2 separate regions of the Homo sapiens genome follow, and region 2 is linked to region 1. Evidence: promoter capture Hi-C in 16 types of primary human blood cells and fetal thymus (Javierre and others, 2016). All regions are on one chromosome and are shown on one strand. The core of a region is centred on a gene start or on the middle of the fragment in contact, and the rest is flanking DNA. Distances in the headings are between cores, read along the strand shown. Region 1 holds the start of TMSB10 (thymosin beta 10). Region 2 overlaps TCF7L1 (transcription factor 7 like 1).

Region 1 (3,891 bases), core at 22-2,521:
TTTTCCAACGCAACCTGGGGACAAAGTGGGGTTAAATTTTACACAGATTGCTTACGAGCAAGAGTTAAGTGGCTAACAAGTCATGAAATCTTACGGAGAAGCAGGTAAAGCCAAAATTAAAAACTCCCTCCGAGTCAGCCCATTCTGCGACCCACCTCCTCCCCTTTGCGGCAGGAACTCTACTCCATCGAGGGGCTTTGCTGCAGTGGCACTGCCCACGCATACTCAACTAAAAGACTCAGACCACGCCAGCCATGCCACGAGGTGTGTTTTATTTTCATTATTCATACAAATAATTTTCTATAATATCCCGGGGCAAACCGGAGAATTTGGCAGTCCGATTGGGGGGGGGTCCCTTCAGAGACCCACAGGCCGGTGGCATCGGCGCGGAGTGCCCAGGTTCACAGTGCAGCTTGTGGCTCGTGTCCATCTTGCAGGTGGCTCTTCCTCCACATCACGACTGGGGTCTCGAAGAGGACGGGGGTAGGAAATCCTCCAGGATCTTAGGAAATTTCACTCCGCTTCTCCTGCTCAATGGCTGTGGAGAGCGGGAAGCGGGCGCTGGAGGGGAGCTGCAACCCCCACCCGCAACCGAGGTGCTTCCCGGTGTGGGCGAGGCACCCACGAGGTGTGGGGATTTAGAAGGAAGCTTGGGGCTGGGGAGAAACAAGGCGCTTTGTGAAACTGAAAGAGTGGCCGGGGCCGCCCACACCGGGGACAACGGCGGGGTGGGGGGTGGAGGAGTGGGTTTGCAAGGAAGAGCAGGGTGAGGGGCTGGGCTGGGGCGCGGGAGACCGAGGCACACTCACTCTCTTTGGTCGGCAGGGTGTTCTTCTCCTGCGTCTCCGTTTTCTTCAGCTTGGCCTTATCGAAGCTGGCGATTTCCCCCATGTCTGGTTTGTCTGCCATTTTCTTAAAACAATCCTAGTGGGCAAACCAAGGCGCTTGACCTGGGCCTGGGGGCCAGCGTCCCCTTCCGCGCTCCCCGCCGACGCCTCTCGACGTGGCACTCGCGCCAAGGCGTGCCGAGCAGCCCCAAGGCCGAGGATCTGGGCGCGTCCCGCACCCCTCTTCTCGGTCCCAGGGCGTGGTCGCCGGCCCCTGCGTCCGGTCCGAGAAGGGCGCCTGTCGCGGTTGCGGCGCGCCCGCCCGGTGCACCGGATCCGACCACACCCTGGGTGGGCCCCCCGCCCCGGCGCCGCACTCACCGTGCAGTCTCGTTCCGAGCCCGAGATCCTGGTGCTCCCACTCGCGTTGCTGCAGCAAGAAACAAAAGAGCGGCGCCCGCCCCTAGCCTTATATACGCCGCGCCCCGCCCCGCCCCTCACCCGCCGCAGCAGGGGCGGTGCTGGCACCCGAGGGGCGGGAGCAGCGCGGGCTGCTCCTCGCCCTGCCGCGCCCCCCGCTGGGCTACCAGCCCGGCTGGGCGCGGCTTCTCCCGCGCCGGGCACCCCCAGCTCGCAGTGTGCCCAGCGTGGGGGCTGTAGTCGCCGCCAGAGTGGGCGCCAGGCCCCCGGCTTTGCTTTTGCGGCTACATTTCCCCCTTTCCGGGAATCTGCTGCTCACCCCGCAGAAAGGATATGGGACCGGCGTGGGAGGGTGTGTGGTTTTGTGCGTGTGCAGATATGATGTGTAGCCGTGGGTGTGGATGTGCGGGCGTGCACGCGCACTCTGCAGCAATCCTCGCTCTAGGAGACGCCCCACCCCAGTCGCCCCCAGGCCTCTTGCTTTTGCTCCTCCAGAGTCCCCTTCCCTCCCCCACTTTTCCTCTCCTTAGGGAGGCTGAGTCCTAAGGTGGTCCTGCACTAAAAGAATTCGAGCCGAGGGTCCCGTAGTGGAGCGGGGGGCGGGGGGGTGTAGGGGGAGGGGGGAATAGGTTTCCAGCGCTCTTTGCTCAGGTTGGGGGCGGTTGCCTTCTGGTCAGTCGTCCCCTGTTCCCTGAACTGGGCGGTTCCAGCAGGATCGTTGGCGTGGCGGGTGTTCCTTAAATGCTGTTAGACGCATTGTGTGAAGGGCTGTGGTGGGAACAGGGCGTCCCGAGAAGGCTCGCAGTTTGCCTTTTCTCGTCGAGCTCCTAGAAACACTGTATCAGCGGGTGCGGTTTTCCTCCTTGAAGTTAACCTTGAGGATAATAGAGACCCACATGCCTACAAACGTTCTTGTTTTTCTTATTAACCCATTGTAGGAGTGGTATACTGCAATTATTCACATCTTTCTTAGAAAAGTTGTATTTTCAGCCTGTGCAACACCGTTAGGTAATAAGTTCCATAAATTACCAGCCCCGGAGTTAAGGCTGGTCATTCTTTTATTTGTCCTGACCTTTCCTTTTTTAAGTGTGAAGTATTACCGAGCTCTTTAAAGTGGGATTTGGTGGTGACATCCTAAATTCGGTCCTGATTTTATTTATTTACTTTTTTTGAGACAGGGTCTCACTCTGTCACCCAGGCTGGAGTGCAGTGGTGTGATCACGGCTTATGGCAGCCTGGACTTCCCCGGTTCAAGTGATTCTTCCACCTCAGCCTCCTGAGCAGTTGGGACTGCGGGCGTGCACCACCACTAGCGGCAAATCTTTTGTGTTCTTTTTGTAGAGACGAGATTTCACCATGTTGCCCAGGCTGGTCTCGAACTTCTGGGCTCAAGCCATCTGCCTGCCTTAACCTCCCAAAGTGCTGGGATTACAAGCCTGAGCACCACTCCCTGCTTCTCCCCTCCTGATTTTACCTGCTTTTCTCACGTTCCTTCAGTTTGGAACAGTGGGAAGAGAGCATAGGCTTGTGTGACCTTGGGCAAATCTTTTCCTTAGTTTCTTCATCTATAAAATAGCCTTGGCATAAACTGAGGTGAGATAAAGAAGAGGCATAGAGTGGATACTTTTTCTTTCTTTTTTTTTTTTTAGCAGGGTCTCTGTGCAGCGGTGGGATCACAGGTCACTGCAGCTTTTTTTTTTTTTTTTTTTTCTTTTTTGAGACGGATCTCACTCTGTTGCCCCGGCTGGAGTGCAGTGGTGCAATCTCAGCTCACTGCAACCTCCGCCTCCCGGGTTCAAGCGATTCTTGTGCCTCAGCCTCCCAAGTAGCTGGTATTACAGGCACGTGCCACCATGTCCGGCTAATTTTTGTATTTTTAGTAGAGACGGGGTTTCACCATGTTGGCCAGGCTGGTCTCAAACTCCTGACCTCAAGTGATCTGCCCTCCTTGGCCTCCCAAAGAGCTGGGATTACAAGTGTGAACCGCTGTGCCTGGCCTCAAGTGGATACTTCAAATAGCAACCTCATTAGAATATCACACTTATATTTGATGAGTGCATTGGTTAACTTCTGCTGCAATATGCCATGTAACAAACCACCCAAAGCTTAGGAGTTTAAACAATGATTTATTCTTGTTCCTATATGGGCAGGTCAGATGGTGCTGGGCTGGGCCGGGCTGAGCTTGGCTCCAGACTTTGTATTGGGTCTAGGTTTGCTCCACAGGTATCTTATCCTCTGGCTGATTCTTTGGTGATGGCAGAATAGCAAGAGGGTTGTACTGCAAGATAGTGTAGAAATGTTAAAGTGTCAAAGCCTGTCATATCCTGTCATGTTTGCTGCCATCCTATTGGTCAAGCCCACCATCAACAGAGTGGGGAAAATATTCCACCTATGGTAAGAGAGGGAGGGTAGTGAACATTTCTTGAATGAAAGTGGAACTTCACGTCAGGGTCAGCAAACAACTGGTAACACACAGCCCCCAAGGTGGCTTAATGCAATACAAGTTTATTTTCTTTTTTGTTTTTTGAGATGGAGTCTTGCCCTGTAGCCCAGGCTGGAGTGCAGAGGCATGATCTCGGCTCACTGCAATATCTGCCTCCCGGGTTCAAGCGATTCTCCTGCCTCAGCCTCCCGAGTAGCTGGG
Region 2 (3,934 bases), core at 884-3,383, 370 kb before region 1:
TTCTCCATGCCCAGTCTAGGCTACATTTAACTGGCTCTGCAAGGCCCAGCTCCTGACCAGTGTGTCGTGGCTGGGCTTCAGCCCACAGCGAAGATGTGTACACGGGCTGGTCCAGCCACCTCCCTCCTGGGGGATGCCCACCGGAATGTAACACATTGAAATGGTGATGAATGGCATCAATGCAACTGATGGCCTGGCAATAGCGATCGCTCCCACTTCTGGGGTGCTTTCTATGGGTTAAATACCCGCTTTTGGATGCTCAAAAATAGAAAGGAAAACACCAAACCCAAACGGCAGGTACTACTGTCTTCGATTTACATATGTTGTGACTATCTAAGACAGGACAGATACACAGTTTTCCAATCTCACTGAATCTGAGAAACACTTTTCTGGGGACTGGGGTTCTGCTACTGTGGTTCACAGTTAAGTAGACTGAGGCTGTGGTTTAAAACATGTCTTTACCTCATTAAGGAAGGATGATTCTAATCCTATTTTTACATTGTTTTCATTGGAGCAGTTGTTGCATTTTTCTCTCGGCATTTACCAAAATGGTCATGTGGTTTCTCTTATTTGACTCATTTATGAGATGTATATATAGCAATAGATTTTCTTACATGAAGGCATTTTTGCATTTCCCAGGTAAGCCCTATTTGGTCATGGTGGTTTGTTCCTTCTTACGCTGTATTGTGGAATGCTAGTCATGTTTTAAATTTTTGACTTTTACATTCCTAAGTAAAGGTGAACAAAGTTTTCTTTTCTTTGGGTGACATCTTTATCGAGTGTTGCCATCAGTGTCCTTGTGGCTTTATTATTCAGAGGGGCTCTGCTCCTCTCTTTCTCAATGTTTTGGGCCCCTCCTTAGAGCCCTCCTTGGGGCGAGCACTTGGCCAGGCGGGCTGTTTCTGCTCAACGTGGATCTCGGGAAGGGTCCCTCTGAAGGATGCTGTCACTAGAGAGCTAGAGCCCCCTTTCCTGCAGGAAGGCGGAGAATCCATCCTACAGAATCCTTGCTTTGATTGGAGCCATGGAGCAGATTAATTGCAGCTGTGCCCTGGAATTTCCCCAACACACAAATCTTCGTGATGTAAAACAGCTGGGAGGAAATCCCAGCATGCCCTGTACAGAGGCAGGACTGCCAATGAGCTACGGAGATTAACCCTCCGGCTCCCAGAAGGTAGGGAGGGCCCCGCCCCAGCCGTCCTCACCCTGTCCCACACTTGCTTAGTGTGGACAGGACTCTACAGGGCTCGGGGGAATGCCCACATTCTCCCTGTTCGCACGTTCTCACAGAAAAGCCTTTAAGCAGGGCCTGGGCAACAGAGGAAACAAAGCTTCATGTTACAGAATCCACAGCTCCCCACAGTTGCATGCAAGGAAAACAAGTCAGCTCCAAAAACTGCACAGGTGAGAAAACTCCAGCCCAGAGAACGCCTTCCGCTGCTTCTAGAGGAAAGGCCCAGTAGGCAGAGAAAGCGCCCCTTGCTCCAGCCCCATGGTCTCGCCCATTTTTGGCCACTTGCCCATCAGCAGACACAAAGGGTCCCAGTTTTGGTGACCGGTCCTTCCTGCCTCTCTGGACCCCTATGGTAAACAGTGACTTTGGGGACCTAGAGCCAGGATCCCCTTTGATAGAGAAGCAAGGGTTGCCCAGGCTTTTCGGGAGATGTAAAGTCCCAGTGCCACCCAGAACCCAAGGCTACACCCAAACTCCGGGTGCAGGTGGCTTCCCACCACAGTGACAATAACATTATTCAAAATGCTCTCCTTGTCCTCTTAGAAACTCTATGTAACAGGAACCTATACTATAACCGTACTATAAATGAAAAATGTGAAGAAGCGATCCGTGTCTCCCCGTCTCCATTCTGCCACAGTTGCAGTCGTTTCTTGCCTGGACTACTGCAAATCCTACCAGAGTCAGCCTTCTAAACACCAGTCACATCTCTCCCCTGCTCAGAACACTTCCCTGGTTGGTTTCTGGGGTCAAGAGATAAAGCCCCCAAACTCACCAGCAATCCCACACCACCCTATCCTTCTGGCTTCCACCCTCACCGCCCCCCACCCCAGCTGCACAGAGTCCTCACTGCACTCTGAACGCACCATGCTGCCCTGCTGCTCCCCGGCCTGCTACGGCCTTTACTGCATCCTTCACTCGTGGGAAACTTTAACCCCTCTTCTTCAAAACCCATTTCCTCCCAAGGTCACCCTCCCTGGCATGAAGCCTCCATGAGTCTGTCGCTCTCGAGAAGCGGTACACGGTGTTTCCATAGCACTCACCAGGCTACTCCTCCCCATTTGCACACTCTGTCTGCCCTTGGGACGGTAAGCTCCTCAAGGGTCATGCTGCACCTCAATTCCTCACCCAGAACCCGGCAATCATGATGTGTTGAAACCCTGTCCCATGCTGTATTAATGCCGTGAGCTTAGGCCCAGTTTCCACATCTGTAACGAGGGGTTGAACAGCCTCTGCCTGAAGCCTTTAGAGCAGGGGAGAGATGTGACTGGTGTTTAGAAGGCTGACTCTGGTAGGATTTGCCGTAGTCCAGGAAAGAAACGACTGCAACTGTGGCAGAATGGAGACGGGGAGACACGGATCGCTTCTTCACATTTTTCATTTATAATACGGTTATAGTATAGGTTCCTGTTACATAGAGCTTCTAAGAGGACAAGGAGAGCATTTTGAATAATGTCATTGTCACTGTGGTGGGAAGCCGCCACACAGGAGCCCATTTCACTCATGGGCAACGCCTGCTTCTCACAGTAACTGGCTTAGTCTGCCGAGAATACGTAAATGTAGCATGGAGGCTGGGATGCCCAACTTGGCCAGTTCTTGGAGACCTGTTTCTATCTTCTGTACTAAAGTTCACAAATGGATCTAAGTTTGAAAATACACTGACACTGAGCAATGAACTCAGGAATAGGGAGACAGAAAAGCTTTCCCAATTGGGAAAACATTTTTAGTTTTCAGCAGTCGGTAAGAGAAAACGAAAGTGTAAAGAACTTGTTCCCAAACAAGATGGATTAGACAAAGAGTTCCAGGGGCAAAAGTATAAAAGAAGTTTTACACTCTTATCCCTTCTTTCTTAAGAATGAGTCATTTATGCCTTTGCTTAACTTTGTGGATGGCACTAAATCCCAAACACATTTTTTGTTTTACCTGAGGGTAGGTTAGATTCTTTCTTGAGGTATTTTTTTTTTTTTTTTTTGAGATGGAGTCTCACTCTGTCGTCCAGGCTGGAGTGCAGTGGCGCAATCATAGATCACTGCAACCTCCACCTCCTGGGCTCAGGCAATCCTCCCATCTCAGCCTCTCAAGTAGCTGGGACCACAGGCATGTGCCACCATGCCTGGCTAATTTATTGTAGTTTTGGTAGAGACAGGATTTCACCATGTTGCCCTGGCTGGTCTCGAACTCCTGAGCTCAAGTGATCTGCCCGCCTTCACCTCCCAATTCTGCTGGCATTACAGGGGTGAGCCACCGCACCTGGCCTACACTGGTCTTAAACCAATGAAGTGACTTTGCTCTCTCTAGCACCTGTCACAGCATTTAGTCAACAAATGGCTTTAAAGCCCATGCACTGGTAGCAGAGGGGCTCCAAAAGCATTTCATAACTGAATAGTAAACTCAAAAGTAAGAGTGTGTCAATTAGGTGTCAGTTTCACCATAAACACCTCTTTCCTCTGCTTTCCCCAAATGATTCTTTCTTTTGTGGATGATCTCAAAACTATTCTCTTCCCCTCGCATTCCAAAGAACCTGGCAATTTTGCCTCCTAGATTTGACCTAAGGTTTGTTTTTAAAAACTGGCTCCCCCGCAGAAGCCAAGCTTTCGTTTTAGAGCACAGGAGGCAAGAGATCAGGGTTCCAGGCTCTTTCTAACCTTTCTGGACTCCATCGTCTCATCTTTAAAATGGGAATATTTTACTTCATCAGCCTGA

Evidence for each region. Contacts are between HindIII fragments. The CHiCAGO score rates a contact against its expected background, and 5 or more counts as called.
Region 2: a contact is called between a fragment that was not itself captured here and the fragment with the promoter of TMSB10 in region 1, in 1 of 17 cell types (M0 macrophages). The highest score is 5.3, in M0 macrophages.

What each region holds. Positions count from the first base shown.
Region 1 is chr2:84,903,036-84,906,926 of GRCh38, reverse strand. TMSB10 (thymosin beta 10) reads right to left here and starts at 1,271. Exons shown (of 3, transcript NM_021103.4): 1 at 1,209-1,271; 2 at 810-924; 3 at 256-538. The coding sequence starts at 909. The coding sequence ends at 504. It overlaps LOC105374836 (a long non-coding RNA gene), which reads left to right. Exons shown (of 2, transcript XR_940308.3): 1 at 1-264. RefSeq lists enhancers at 1-4, 1-1,008 and a silencer at 975-1,514. The HindIII fragment of the contact is 2,703 bases long and covers 652-3,354 here.
Region 2 is chr2:85,275,189-85,279,122 of GRCh38, reverse strand. The region is part of intron 3 of TCF7L1 (transcription factor 7 like 1); the gene reads right to left. Among named protein-coding and RNA genes, the nearest start is that of TGOLN2, 51 kb to the left of the region's middle. The HindIII fragment of the contact is 1,600 bases long and covers 1,334-2,933 here.